3 separate regions of the Homo sapiens genome follow, and all the other regions are linked to region 1. Evidence: promoter capture Hi-C in human tissues and cell types (Jung and others, 2019). All regions are on one chromosome and are shown on one strand. The core of a region is centred on a gene start or on the middle of the fragment in contact, and the rest is flanking DNA. Distances in the headings are between cores, read along the strand shown.

What was found. The method cuts DNA at HindIII sites, captures the fragments that hold promoters and counts their contacts. A contact is called where the count stands out against the background at its distance.
Region 2: the fragment with the promoter of EPHB4 here is called in contact with the fragment with the promoter of TSC22D4 in region 1 in 2 of the 25 tissues and cell types used here (bladder and heart right ventricle).
Region 3: a fragment that was not itself captured here is called in contact with the fragment with the promoter of TSC22D4 in region 1 in 1 of the 25 tissues and cell types used here (dorsolateral prefrontal cortex).

The regions. Positions count from the first base shown.
Region 1 is chr7:100,477,209-100,481,658 of GRCh38, reverse strand. It overlaps TSC22D4 (TSC22 domain family member 4), which reads left to right and starts at 2,445. Exons shown (of 5, transcript NM_030935.5): 1 at 2,445-2,865; 2 at 3,352-4,382. The coding sequence starts at 3,621. It overlaps TSC22D4-C7ORF61 (TSC22D4-C7orf61 readthrough), which reads left to right and starts at 2,445. Exons shown (of 6, transcript NM_001395846.1): 1 at 2,445-2,865; 2 at 3,352-4,382. The coding sequence starts at 3,621. RefSeq lists enhancers at 1,930-2,039, 2,740-2,809 and a silencer at 2,130-2,289. The HindIII fragment of the contact is 44,126 bases long and covers 1-4,450 here.
Region 2 is chr7:100,826,195-100,830,501 of GRCh38, reverse strand. It overlaps EPHB4 (EPH receptor B4), which reads left to right and starts at 2,979. Exons shown (of 17, transcript NM_004444.5): 1 at 2,979-3,523. The coding sequence starts at 3,472. It also overlaps a transcript of SLC12A9 not described here. RefSeq lists enhancers at 588-1,383, 2,180-2,975. The HindIII fragment of the contact is 16,187 bases long and covers 554-4,307 here.
Region 3 is chr7:100,842,362-100,846,986 of GRCh38, reverse strand. All of the region lies in intron 1 of SLC12A9-AS1 (SLC12A9 antisense RNA 1), which reads left to right. It also overlaps a transcript of SLC12A9 not described here. Among named protein-coding and RNA genes, the nearest start is that of SLC12A9-AS1, 7.9 kb to the left of the region's middle. The HindIII fragment of the contact is 3,628 bases long and covers 1-3,443 here.

The sequences.
Region 1 (4,450 bases), core at 1,196-3,695:
TGTTGCTAGAGGAGAAAAGGTTCTGTAAGGGACAGAGGGATGCAGTCTAGAGGGGTAGGGAGCAGGTGGGAGGCTGCTTCCCAGACTTCACTACTTGGGAGGCCCACAGACTTGGGCTATGGCAGCCGTTGTTACTATGGCTTAAGGGAGAGAAACAGAAGTGTGGATGCTTCTAACAAAGAGATAAAGAATAAATACATAAAGAGGGTAGGTATTGCATTGTTTTATTTTTACGTACCCCTAAAGAGGGGTTAGAGGCCGGGCGTGGTGGCTTATGCCTGTAATCCCAGCACTTTGGGAGGCCGAGGCGGGCGGATCACGAGGTCAGGAGATCAAGACCATCCTGGCTAACACGGGGAAACCCCGTCTCTAGTAAAAATACAAAAAATTAGCCGGGCATGGTGGCGGGTGCCTGTAGTCCCAGCTACAGGCTGAGGCAGGAGAATGGCGTGAACCCGGGAGGTGGAGCTTGCAGTGAGCCGAGATAGAGCCACTGCACTCCAGCCTGGGCGACAGAGCGAGACTCCGTCTCAAAAAAAGAGGGGTTAGAAATTTCCCTGAGGCCAGGCACCATGGCTCACGCCTGTAATGTCAGCTCTTTGGGAGGCCCAGGTGGAAGTATCATTTGAGGCCAGGAATTCGAGACCAGCCTGGGCAACATAGTAATAACCTGTCTCTACAAAAACTAAAAAATTAGCCAGGTATGGTGGTATACACCTGTGGTCCCAGCTACTAGGGAGGCAGAAGCAGGAGGATCACTTGAGGCCGGGAGTTCAAGACCACCCTGGGCAACATTGCAAGATCCCCATCTCTACCAAAAAAAAAAATTTTTTTTTAAAGAAATTTAGCCAGGCGTAGTAGTGTGTGTCTGTGGTCCCAGCTACTTGGGAGGCTGAGGCAGGAGCATGGCTTGAGCCCAGGAGTTCCAGGCTGTGGTGAGCTATGATCGCACCACTGCACTCCATCCTGGGCAACAGAGAGAGAGAGAGACCCTGTCTCTAAAAAAAAAGGCGGGGGCAGGTTGGGGGAAAGGGGAATAGTATAACATCTAGGATCTGATTTCAAATAGTCCAGCAAACTACAGCTGGCCCCCACACAATGTCATTTCATTGAATGTCATTTCATTATAACATTGATGATTTTCTAAAAATTGATTTTGGGCTGGGACCACCATCTGTGTGGAGTTTGCATGGTCTCCCCATGTCTGCATGGCATGTTTGAAAATTTTCATAATAATCCACTTTTTTTTTTTTTTTGAGACATGGTCTCACTCTGTTGCCCAGGCTGGAGTGCAGTGGCACAATCTTGGCTCACTGCATCCTCAACCTCCTGGGCTCAAGAGATCCTCCTGCCTCACAGCCTCCTGAGTAGCTGGGACTACAGGTATACATCACCACACTCAGTTTTTTTTTTTTTTTAAGATGGAGTCTCACTCTGTCACCAGGCTGGAGTGCAGTGGCGTGATCTCGACTCACTGCAACCTCCGCCTCCCAGGTTGAAGTGATTCTCCTGCCTCAGCCTCCCGAGTAGCTGGGACTACAGGTGCCCGCCACCACACCTGGCTAATTTTTGTATTTTAAGTAGAGACTTGGTTTCACCATGTTGGCCAGGATGGTCTTAATCTCTTGACCTCGTGATCCGCCCGCCTCGGCCTCCCAAAGTGCTAATTTTTTAAATTTTTTGTAGAGATGGGGATCTCGTTATATTGCCCAGGCTGGTCACGAACTCCTGGGCTCAAGCGATCCTCCCACCTTTGAGTAGCTGGAATTATAGGTGCACATCACCATGCCCAGCTATTTTTTTTTATTTTTTGTAGAGATGGGGTCTTGCTATTATATTGTCCAAACTGGTCTCAAGCGATCCTCCTTCCTCGACCTCCCAAAGTGCGGAGATTACAGGCATGAGCCACCACCGGGATCCGGCAATAATCCACTTTTAAAAATAAGGAATGGGGGGAATAATGCAGTTGCTGTGAAAACCAAAGGAGAATGACAGTAACAGCCACAGCTGCCCCACAGCAGGGACTGGGAACTTCTGGGTGGGCATGCAGCACACCTCCCGGCCTGTGCCTTCCGTCTCTTCTGTGTGTCTCTAGGCCAATGGCAGCAATTGACTACAAGTAAGGGAATCCCTCGCCTCCCTGCAAGCTCCTCCCCTTTCTCCCCGAGCCCCGCCCCCTGCAGCCCCTCCCTGCAAGAGTGGGGCTAGGGCCCGGCAGGTGTGGGGTTAAGGGAGTCTGTTTGGGGCCCCCAGGAGCAGCAGCCTAAGCAGTGGCTGCAGCAACTGCAACAGCAGCGGCTGTGGCAGGCCTGGCCCCGGGCCAGCTGGCGGGAAGCCCCAGGAGGGAGGGAGGGAGGAGGAAGGGGAGGAAGAGGGGAAGGAGGAGGAGGAGGAGGAGAGGAGCAGTCAGCAGGCCCGAGGAGGCAGGACTTCCTGGTGTGGGGGTTGTCAACAGCCCAGAAAGAGAAAGACGGAGAGGCAGAGACCCAGGGGAGCCGAGGAGCGGAGACACGGACCCAGCAGGGTCACGCGGGAGGAGACTCGGGACACCCACTCGCTGGCTGCCACCGGGAGCAGAGGGGGGCTCGGCCGCCCCCTCCCACATCAGTCTCCAGACCCTTGGGGCTTCAGAGGCCGCTCCTAGGCTCCTCGGAGGAGGCGCGGGTTTCTTCTTTTCCGGAGAGCAAACTTTCCTCGGAGATGCCTGGCAGGATGAGCCGCGGCCCCCGGAGAGGACGGGACAGCCTCTGATCGCCGCCTGCGTGCCCCGCCACTGCCCATGGCCAGGAGGCCCCAGGGAACGGACAGCCCGACCTCTTAGGCGCCGGGACCCTCAGGCTCAGATCAGTGGCCGAGGCCCCAGAGGTAGGGTTCAGGGCTGGGTGGGGCGCTGGGGGGTAGCCGGGCAGGGCCTGCCCCAGAGATGTGGGAGCTGGGGTGAGGGTGGGGGCTCGAGGCCCAGGAGAGGTCTCTCTGAGTGGCCGGGCCAGGCTGGGGAGCTGCTTCAGCCTGGTTCTCCCAGGCCCTGGAGTCCGAGCTCTTGGGACAATACGGGCCCCCTGAGTCAGAATCCCAGGCGAGAAATGCCCAACTCTGGGACTCATCTGCCTCTTTCTACTCTGAGTGCCTTCTTGGATCCAGTCCCCTCTGCCCTGGTCTCTGTCATCTCTTGCCTGTCTCTGGGTCTCTGACGGTTTCCCCTTCCCCCACTCTGCTCCCCGGAGAGGAAGCCCCGGAGGTGGCCTGCCCACTGGTTTCACACACACACACACACACACACACACACACACACACACACACACACACACTCTCTCTCTCTCTCTCTCTCTCTCTCTCCCCCTCTTTTTCCAGTTTGCAAACTCAGCTCTGGAGTTCAGCAGCAACAGCAGCAGGAAAAACCTGCCCCTGCTCCCCCCTCCCGCCACCTCCCCTCTCCTCTTCTCCCCTCACCCAGCAGGCACCCCCGGTTCCCGCCAGGCCCTCCTGCCATGTCGGACCCAGACGTCCCCAGGGGCTCGGATGTCCCCGCCATGTGGCCCCCTTGTTCCAGGGGTGCCTGAGCCCCTTCAAGGAGCCCCAACCCACCCCCAACCTTGGCCCAGCCCTGAGCCCCAGGGACCATGAGCGGGGGCAAGAAGAAGAGTAGTTTCCAAATCACCAGCGTCACCACGGACTATGAGGGCCCTGGGAGCCCAGGGGCTTCGGATCCCCCTACCCCACAGCCCCCAACCGGGCCCCCGCCCCGCCTGCCCAATGGGGAGCCCAGCCCCGATCCGGGGGGCAAGGGCACCCCCCGGAATGGCTCCCCACCACCTGGGGCCCCTTCCTCCCGTTTCCGGGTGGTGAAGCTGCCCCACGGCCTGGGAGAGCCTTATCGCCGCGGTCGCTGGACGTGTGTGGATGTTTATGAGCGAGACCTGGAGCCCCACAGCTTCGGCGGACTCCTGGAGGGAATTCGAGGGGCCTCAGGGGGCGCCGGGGGCAGATCTTTGGATTCCAGGTTGGAGCTGGCCAGCCTCGGCCTGGGCGCCCCCACCCCACCGTCAGGCCTGTCTCAGGGCCCCACCTCCTGGCTCCGTCCACCCCCCACCTCTCCTGGACCTCAGGCCCGCTCCTTCACTGGGGGACTGGGCCAGCTGGTGGTGCCCAGCAAAGCCAAGGCAGAGAAACCCCCACTGTCGGCCTCCTCACCCCAGCAGCGCCCCCCAGAGCCTGAGACCGGTGAGAGTGCGGGCACATCCCGGGCTGCCACGCCCCTGCCCTCTCTGAGGGTGGAAGCGGAGGCTGGGGGCTCAGGGGCCAGGACCCCTCCACTGTCCCGGAGGAAAGCTGTAGACATGCGGCTGCGGATGGAGTTGGGTGCTCCAGAAGAGATGGGGCAGGTAAGACCTGGGTTCTAGGGCTGGCCCATCAGCCCTGGCCTAACCTCTATCTTGAGCCTCCTTCCTCC
Region 2 (4,307 bases), core at 1,730-4,229, 350 kb before region 1:
GGGTCTCGCTATGTTGTTCAGGCTGCCCTCAAACTCCTGGACTGAAACGATCCTCTCATCTCAGCCTCCAAAAGTGCTGGCATTACAGGTATGAGTCACTGTGCCCCACTAAGATGAGTGTTTTCTATTGTTTAATTAATTTATGTTTTGAGACAGAGTTTCACTCTGTTGCCCAGGCTGGAGTGCAGTGGCACGATTTCAGCTCACTGCAACCTCTGCCTCCCAGGGTTCAAGCAATTCTCCTGTCTCAGCCTCCCGAGTAGCTGGGACTGCAGGCCTGCACCACCACACCTGGCTAAGTTTTGTATTTTCAGTAGAGAAGGGGTTTCACTATGTTGGCCAGGCTGGTCTCGAACTCCTGACCTCAGGTGATCCGCCTGCCTCGGCCTCCCAAAGTGCTGGGATTACAGGTGTGAGCCACTGCGCCCAGCCTATTTATTTATTTACTTATTTATTTACTTTATATATTTTTTGGAGACAGAGTGTGGCTCTGTTGCCCAGGCTGGAGTGCAGTGGTGCAATCTCTGCTCACTGCAACTTCTGCCTCCCGGGTTCAAGCGATTCTCGTGCCTCAGCCTCCCTAGTAGCTGGGACTACAGGTGTGTGCCATGATGCCCAGCTGATTTTTGTATTTTTAGTAGAGAGGGGTTTCACCATGTTGGCTAGGCTGGTCTCGAACTCTTGGGCTCAAGTGATCCACCCGCCTCGGCCTCCCAAAATGCTGAGATTACAGACCTGAGCTACTGTCCCCAGCCAGAAGACATAACTTTTAGAGGCTACAGGATCTGGGTACAGAGTGAGAGTGGCAAAAGGCAGGGCAGGGGTTTGGGAGAGGGTTGCAGAGAACCCCGAGGGAGAAGCTGAATAAGAGAAGGGGAGACTGGGCCTGCATCGGGGAGGGAGGAGGGAATTCCCAGCTCCAGCCTGGTCTGCCTGGCTCCAGTGAAGCCGGCTGTTTCCTGCCCTCGGTGACCGGCCCACCCCCCCCAACCCGGGCGCAGGACCCAGGCAGAACAGCAAGGAAGGGCAGGGGTGTGGGGAACACCTCTTGCAGCAGGAAGATAAGTAAGCCGGGACAAGAGGTTATCACAGGCCCGGCTGTCCTTTCTGGGACGTAAGGGCGCTTGGCAGCCCCCCAAGCATCCTGGACTCCAACGTCTCTCTTGCTGGGCTCCAACGTCTCTCTTGCTGGGCTCCTCAAGATTCTGTCCTCCGGCTGGGCGCGGTGGCTAACGTCTGTAATCCCAGCACTTTGGGAGGCCAAGGTGGGTGGATCACTTTAGGTCAGGAGTTCGAGACCAGCCTGGCCAACATGGCGAAACCCTGTCTCTACTAAAAATACGAAAACTAGCCGGGGTTGGTGCCCTGTGCCTGTAATCCCAGCTACTCGGGAGGCTGAGGCAGGAGAATCGCTTGAACCTGGGAGGCGGAGGTTGCAGTGAGCCCAGATCACGCCACTGCACTCCAGCCTGGGAAATAGAGGGAGACTCTGTCTCAAAAAAAAAAAAAAAATCTGTCCCCGCTAATTACTGTGGGAGTCTAAGTCCTTTCCTTCTGCCCCTTGGAGGGGCTGACTCCTGGAGCAGCACCCCCTCCAATCCATCTATCCAGTAACCCATACTGTTAAGTTCCCTGAAGTAGAAGGGGGTTGGTGGGAGGAGCACGGCTGTGCTGGACCCTCCCCGCTAACTGATGGGAGGGTGAGGGGAGTTGGCAGTGAGAGGAAGGGCCCCTCCCAGCCATCCCGAGGGCCCCCAGGAGCCAGACAGGAAACAGCTCAGGAAAGACAGCAGCCGCAGCCGCAGCCCCAGCCTCAGGGGTCATGGCTGCGGGCGGCGGGGAAGCCCCCCCAAAACACGAGAGTGAGAGTGAGAAGGGCGATTTGGAGATCTAGCCGGACCCCTCACCCTCTCGGACACACCCACCTTTTTTTTTTTTTTTTTTTTTTTTGAGATTTCGTCTCACTCTGTAGCCCAGGCTGGAGTGCAGTGGCGCGATCTCAGCTCCCAGCTCACTGCAACCTCCGCCTCCTAGGTCCCGGTTCAAGCAATTCTCCTGCCTCAGCCTCCCGAGTAGCTAGGATTACAGGCGCGCGCCACCATGCCCAGCTAATTTTTGTATTTTTAGTAGAGACGGGGTTTCATCATGTTGGCCAGGCTGGTCTTGAACTCCTGACCTCAAATGATCCGCCTGCCTCTGCCTCCCAAAATGCTGGGACTACAGGCGTGAGCCACCGCGCCCGCCACACCCACCTTTTCTTTACCGTTGTTTCCTCGATTTTTCTCTACTCCCTAGCGCAGCTTAGTGCGCGCCTCCTCTGGACATTTTTCAGGGCTTGGTTGCGCGCACAGTAGGTCCCCAACACTGAATGTTTATGGGGTGACTGTGTGAACGTTCGCTGCAAGGCTATCCAAACTGGGATTGCTCCTTGAGGCCCCCTGGGCGGCCGTCAATTCTCCAAAGCTTCTACTCCCTTTTCCTTCCTTTTCCCCCAAAACGCAGTCCCTGCGCCCACTAGAGGGTGGTGGGCGCATCCAAGAGCGGCATCTAGAGTCCGCAGCAAGGTCAGAGCGGGCTTTGTGTGCGCGGTGAACATTTACGTGCACGCCTGGGCGGCCCTCCGTGTTGCTGCTGGGTGTGTGTTTTCTCTGCTCCCTGGTGCCAGCCGGGTTCGGGCCTGTCCCGGGGGTCCCTGGGCCCCAGCCCCGACATGCTCGGTCCTGGACAGCGCGCACCGCCACGGCGCACATCTGGGCGGTCCCGGGGTTCCTCACCCGCCGCCCCTCCCCCTTCTCCAAACTTTCTCTCAACTTCCCGACCTGCTCCACTCGGTGCCCCTCTCCGCTTCCCTCATGAATTATTCAGTAGCGTGAGCTCCAATCAGCGCGCCCGGGGCTCACTCGCGGAGCCCCCGCGTTGGGAGAGCTGCCCCCGCCCCCCGCGCGCCCCTCCCTCCCGGGCCCGGCGCCGCCCGGCCCAGTTCCAGCGCAGCTCAGCCCCTGCCCGGCCCGGCCCGCCCGGCTCCGCGCCGCAGTCTCCCTCCCTCCCGCTCCGTCCCCGCTCGGGCTCCCACCATCCCCGCCCGCGAGGAGAGCACTCGGCCCGGCGGCGCGAGCAGAGCCACTCCAGGGAGGGGGGGAGACCGCGAGCGGCCGGCTCAGCCCCCGCCACCCGGGGCGGGACCCCGAGGCCCCGGAGGGACCCCAACTCCAGCCACGTCTTGCTGCGCGCCCGCCCGGCGCGGCCACTGCCAGCACGCTCCGGGCCCGCCGCCCGCGCGCGCGGCACAGACGCGGGGCCACACTTGGCGCCGCCGCCCGGTGCCCCGCACGCTCGCATGGGCCCGCGCTGAGGGCCCCGACGAGGAGTCCCGCGCGGAGTATCGGCGTCCACCCGCCCAGGGAGAGTCAGACCTGGGGGGGCGAGGGCCCCCCAAACTCAGTTCGGATCCTACCCGAGTGAGGCGGCGCCATGGAGCTCCGGGTGCTGCTCTGCTGGGCTTCGTTGGCCGCAGCTTTGGAAGGTGAGTTTCCTTGCGGGGGGGGGCGCACCCCGTCACTCCTGGGACCTCCCCCCCAACATCTGGGCCTCGGAGTGGAGGGGCCGGCCTCTGACTACCCCTACCCGGGCACTGCAGTCCCAAACACTTCGGACCGATAGTGCTGGAACGGGAGGGGGGCGGGGAAGAGGCGCCCGACGGGTAGTGGAGTTTTCTTTTGTTTGGGAAAGAGATGGAGTCTGGCTACGACCCGGGACATTCCCCTGCCCGGGCTCCCCGAACTCTCACTGCTGATTACATACGCCCCTGGCTGCCTTTCCTTTCCTCCCTACCCCACTATTCAAAACTATCTGCAAAGTTTCTGTCCCAGTCCCACCTCCCGCCGTACATGAGGGAAGGTTTCTGGAGAAGCAACAGCAGACAAGGCACAACTTTTCGTGCTAGGCCCTAAAACGACCCCCAGCGCCAATTCCTTAGCGATCACACCTTGATCCTCCAGTTCCACACTCCTGCAACAGGATGGCCTCCTTTGCATTCACACAGCAAACCCCCAAACCGCTCTCCCGCCCACTGCTCCTGCCCCTGGTATAGGGTGGCTCCTTGGTTTCTACAGGCTGCACCCCATCCCTTTAAATGCGGTCTAGACCCCGGCCCCAGGTGAGTCCCGGGCTTCCCTTGAGACCTAGGAGCGGGTAGAAACTGACCTACACAGCCCCCAGGTAGAAACTGACCTACACAGCCCCCACATCGCCCTAACTAACCCAGTCTATCTCCCACCTCCTGGTCTCTCCAAGCATTTCTTTGGCCA
Region 3 (4,625 bases), core at 380-2,879, 370 kb before region 1:
ACGTGACTGGGGGCTGCATGCACCGGTAATTAGATTGGAAGAAAACAGGACAGGGATTTTCACAGTGCTTTTCTATACAATGTCTATAATCTATAGATAACATAACCGATTAGGTCAGGGGTCGATCTTTAACTACTAGGCCTAGGGTGTGGCACCAGGCTGTCTGCTTGTGGATTTTATTTCTGCCTTTTAGTTTTTACTTTTTCTTTCTTTGGAGGCAGAAATTGGGCATAAGACAATATGAGGGGCGGTCTCTTCCTTTATTCCTCCCCTTTGAGACTCACTCAATAGTGGAAGTTCTCACTTTCATTCTCACTACCCATGTCTTCTTGCACGACAGATCGATAGTGATTCATATAGTACACTTGTGCTGAAGCATTTTGGTGAACTAAGGTAGCGATGAAGCTTTTTTTTTTTTTTGAGACGGAGTCTCACTTTGTCGCCCAGGCTAGAGTGCAGTGGCGCGATCTCGGCTCACTGCCAGCTCCGCCTCCTGGGTTCATGCCATTCTCCTGCCTCAGCCTCCCGAGTAACTGGGACTACAGGCGCCCGCCACCACGCCCGGCTCATTTTTTTGTATTTTTAGTAGAGACAGGGTTTCACCGTGTTAGCCAGGATGGTCTCCATCTCCTGACCTCGTGATCCACCCGCCTCGGCCTCCCAAAGTGCTGGGATTACAGGCGTGAGCCACCGCGCCCGGCCTGCAATGAAGCTTTTTATCATTTGAAGAAGTACAGGTAGCAAACAAAGGAGCAGTAAGCAGGTTCCTATTACTATTATAACTCTTATTATAAGACTTTTAAATTCTCTTAGCACTGGGAACCATTTTCTAAACATGGCCTCAGGATCAAATCCATGCCACACTTGCCTAGGCACATGTGCCAGTTTTGTCATATCTCTATGTCTTCAACTACTTGCCTTTGATTATCTATGTGTAGGCAGCAATTAGTAAGGTTAAATTTCTTACAGACCTCTCCTTCAGCTGCTAGCAAGTAGTCGAGAGCTAATCTATTTTGATAGAGAGCATTTCTCATCTGAGTTTCTTGCCGGCCTAGAATAGTCAAGGCTCTGCTGGTTTTATTAGTGATTATTTTTAAGACAGCTTGTAACCATATGATTCAGTTGATTATATAAATGGGGGTCCAGTATCTTCACGAGCCGTCTTGTGTCTAAGTAGCAGGCCTATAATATTGTATGATTCTCTCAGAGGGCCATTTATCATTTTTTGAATTTCCTATGGCTATGCTTCTCTTTTCACGGGAAGCATAGACAGGGAAGCCTAGGAGTTGGCCTGTTTTTATGGGCAGTAGGAAGAAAGATGGTTTAATAGTGCCAATAGGCCGGGCGTGGTGGCCCACGCCTATAATCCCAGCACTTTGGGAGGCCGAGGCGGGTGGATCACAAGGGCAGGAGATCGAGACCATCCTGGCTTACATGGTGAAACCCCGTCTCTACTAAAAATACAAAAAATTAGCCGGGCATGGTGGCGGGCTCCTGTAGTCCCAGCTACTCGGGAGGCTGAGGCAGGAGAATGGCGTGAACCCGGGAGGTAGAGTTTGCAGTGAGCCGAGATTGCTCCACTGCACTCCAGCCTGGGCGACAGAGCAAGACTCCGTCTCAAAAAAATAAATAAATAAATAAAATAAAATAGCGCCAATAACACAACTACTTGTCTGCTGGTCAGGCAGCCTAGCGTAGGCTCTATGTCCACATATCTAGTATAGCCTAGTGGGGGCCGTCCAGTCCTGGTGGGATTCTGGGTGGGCCTAAACGGTCCGCAACTTTGGAAATTTAGTGAATGGATTTTTCTCTGTGTGGTTTGAAGTCCACCATGCAGTCTTCCTACAGGAAGGATGAAGTCCTTCTCCACTTTTGCTATACAGTATTGTCCAATGATTGAGGCTTTTAGGACCTAGAAGTGATCAGGGTGATTTTTTTGTGCCAGGAATTCATCAGGAACTGGGTATGTAGGTACCAATTCTCGGGCTTCCCATGGCCATTGATCTCCTATTACAGCTCCTCCACATATATAACAGGAAGTGACATTGAGAGACTGGGCTGCACGCTCGGCTAATTGCAAAAACAAATTTCTTGTTTTTCCTGGAATTTCTGGTACTGGCACTTTTAGTTTATCATAGAAGTTTTGAAATACTGGCTCAGGAGAGCGTTTATAAACTTCTCCTCGAACTAAGATATTTACTCGAGGATCCAGTCCAGCCCCGTTGATTCCTAAGGTCACACGCTCCTCTTTTTTCTAGCGAGGATCAAGGGGATTGGTTATTACTAGCTCTAAAGGGTTACATTGTCCTTTAGTACAGGAAGGGCCATTTTTTCCTTTCTGAAGGTGGACTGGGTCCTTTTTATTTTTTTTTAATTTAAGTGGCTTAAATGACACAAGACCAGTATTTACATTTATTTCCACACAGTCCTAATTTATGACAGATGTACTTATTTTCTGCCATATAGCCTCTTTTCTAATTAAGAGAACTACACCTTATTCCCAACTTATTACTATTAATGATAGCACAGGCATCAAATTTTAACGTGACTTGTTTGGGCACCTCTTTTTCTTCTGTTTTGGTTAACACTTTACTCATATCGTTTGTGAGCCCCCACCAGTCTTCATTCTTAATCTTATTTTAAAAACTGTGGTCATGGGAGGCTCAGGTGGGTCATAACGCACATCAGGTTGGTCATTTCCTGGGCTACATACCTTGTACAGAATAACATTATACAAACAAGGCTTTTTTAGAGTTCTAGTACACTTATAATAACTGTAAAATAATAGGACCATAGCAACCTTTTGTCCTACCTCAGTGACTTGATGTATATACTGGGAACAGTCCTCAGTCTGAGGAAGGTCAGTTGAAGTCCTTACTGTAAAATTCCAAATTTTAAGGCAAATGAGTCCTGCGATGAGTTTTCTCATGCTTCGGCCATGCGTGGACCAGTCAGCTTCCGGGTGTGACTGGAGCAGGGCTTGTCATCTTCTTCAGAGTCACTTTGCAGGGGCTGGCGAAGCTGCTTCCGTCCACATACTGCTCACAGTCTACTGATGTTTAAGGATGGTTTCGGAGGTTGGGCCTGCTAGGATAAACTGAGTCTAACACCCCTATACAGTTATGTTCAACTGGGCTTTCTGATACTGGCAGCAAGGTGGTGGGGTTTAGGGTGTTGCAAACTTCAATGGTTATGTGGGGATTTTCACATAGCAAGCTTTGGTACTTGGTTAATCTAGCATTTGTAACCAATGAGGTCCTTTGGTAGTCATTCAAGTTACCACAGCATGGGGGGACTTTATATTCAGGTTTTGCCTAAGGGTTAGTTTATCTGCTTCTTGTGCTAACAGGGCCATTGCTGCTAGGGCCCTTAAACCTGGGGGCCAGCCTTTGGAAACCTTGTCTAGTTGTTTTGAGAGATAGGCCACTGGCCTTGCCCAGGGCCCTACAGTCTGGGTTAAAACTCTAACTGCCTTTTTTTCTCTTTCTGACACGTAGGGTGTAAAGGGTTCAGGTAGCCTCAGGGCTGGGGCCGACATGAGTTTTTCTTTTAACTCATGAAAAGCTCATTGCTGTTGGTTGTAATAGATGTAGTTTATCTAATCTACATTTTTATTAACTGTCACTCACCAAAATATTGACTCAAATCCTGCAGCTATTTGATTTCAAGCTTTAAATTGATCTGGTATTCCTCATGGGACTCCAATTGCGTCTAAATAGACATGAGAGTCAAAAGACCCATAAGGGGCTTCTCTCGCTTTACAATGTCTTATTTTTTCTCCCTCTGGTTGATGAAATGCCAGGGTGAAAGGGATAGCCAATTGGACTAAAGTACAAGTGCCACTCCAGTTATTCGGCAGAGTGCCTAGTAAAGGTCCACCAAAATACCACCACACATCCGCTCAGGGATGAACAAGGGCTGACTGATTAATAAGCTCTTGAAAATTCTTAAGCTCATCGCATCCCTTCAGGTCTCCAAGGAATGCTAAGTTTCCTCCCTGTAGTGAGAGATACGAAGTGAACTTAGTGTTGGGAGACGGAAGCTGGATGGCCCTCAGGGGCTGACCCGCAGGGTGCCAGACTTAGGGATACAGCAGAGAGAGCTTGGCATGACTTATTACTCCAGGCTGTAGAATCCTGGAAAAGAGCTACCATGCAACCTACACCTGGTCGACTGGAGGACCACCTTAGTGGAAGGGGGACAGTCTGGGCCTCTGGCCTGCCATGTGCACAAGCATAACAATTGCTTTTGTTTAATGTGCAGATGGAATATTTGATCCATTTTAACTAGGCATTTGCATGTTGGTATCCTGTCTTAATTGCTAAAATTTGTTTTAAGTCTTTAACTTCTATGATCCTCTAGTAAAATTAATGTATGATTTTAGGAAATTATAAAAACCGGTTGGGGCAGTCCATCTTTGCTCTTTAATGGTCCACAGAACATTGGACCAACTATGGCATGAAAGCTCTACGTCGGGGGCAAGACTCTTCGTTGGCACTGGGGTCTTTATCGAAATCTCCCTGGATTAAATGGTCCTAGTTTACTAATGCCCAGTCTGAGGAGAGTCAGGAGAGACAGAAGTGCTTTTCTGAAGTAGAGAGCTGTCTTTGACTTGGCAAGTCCTC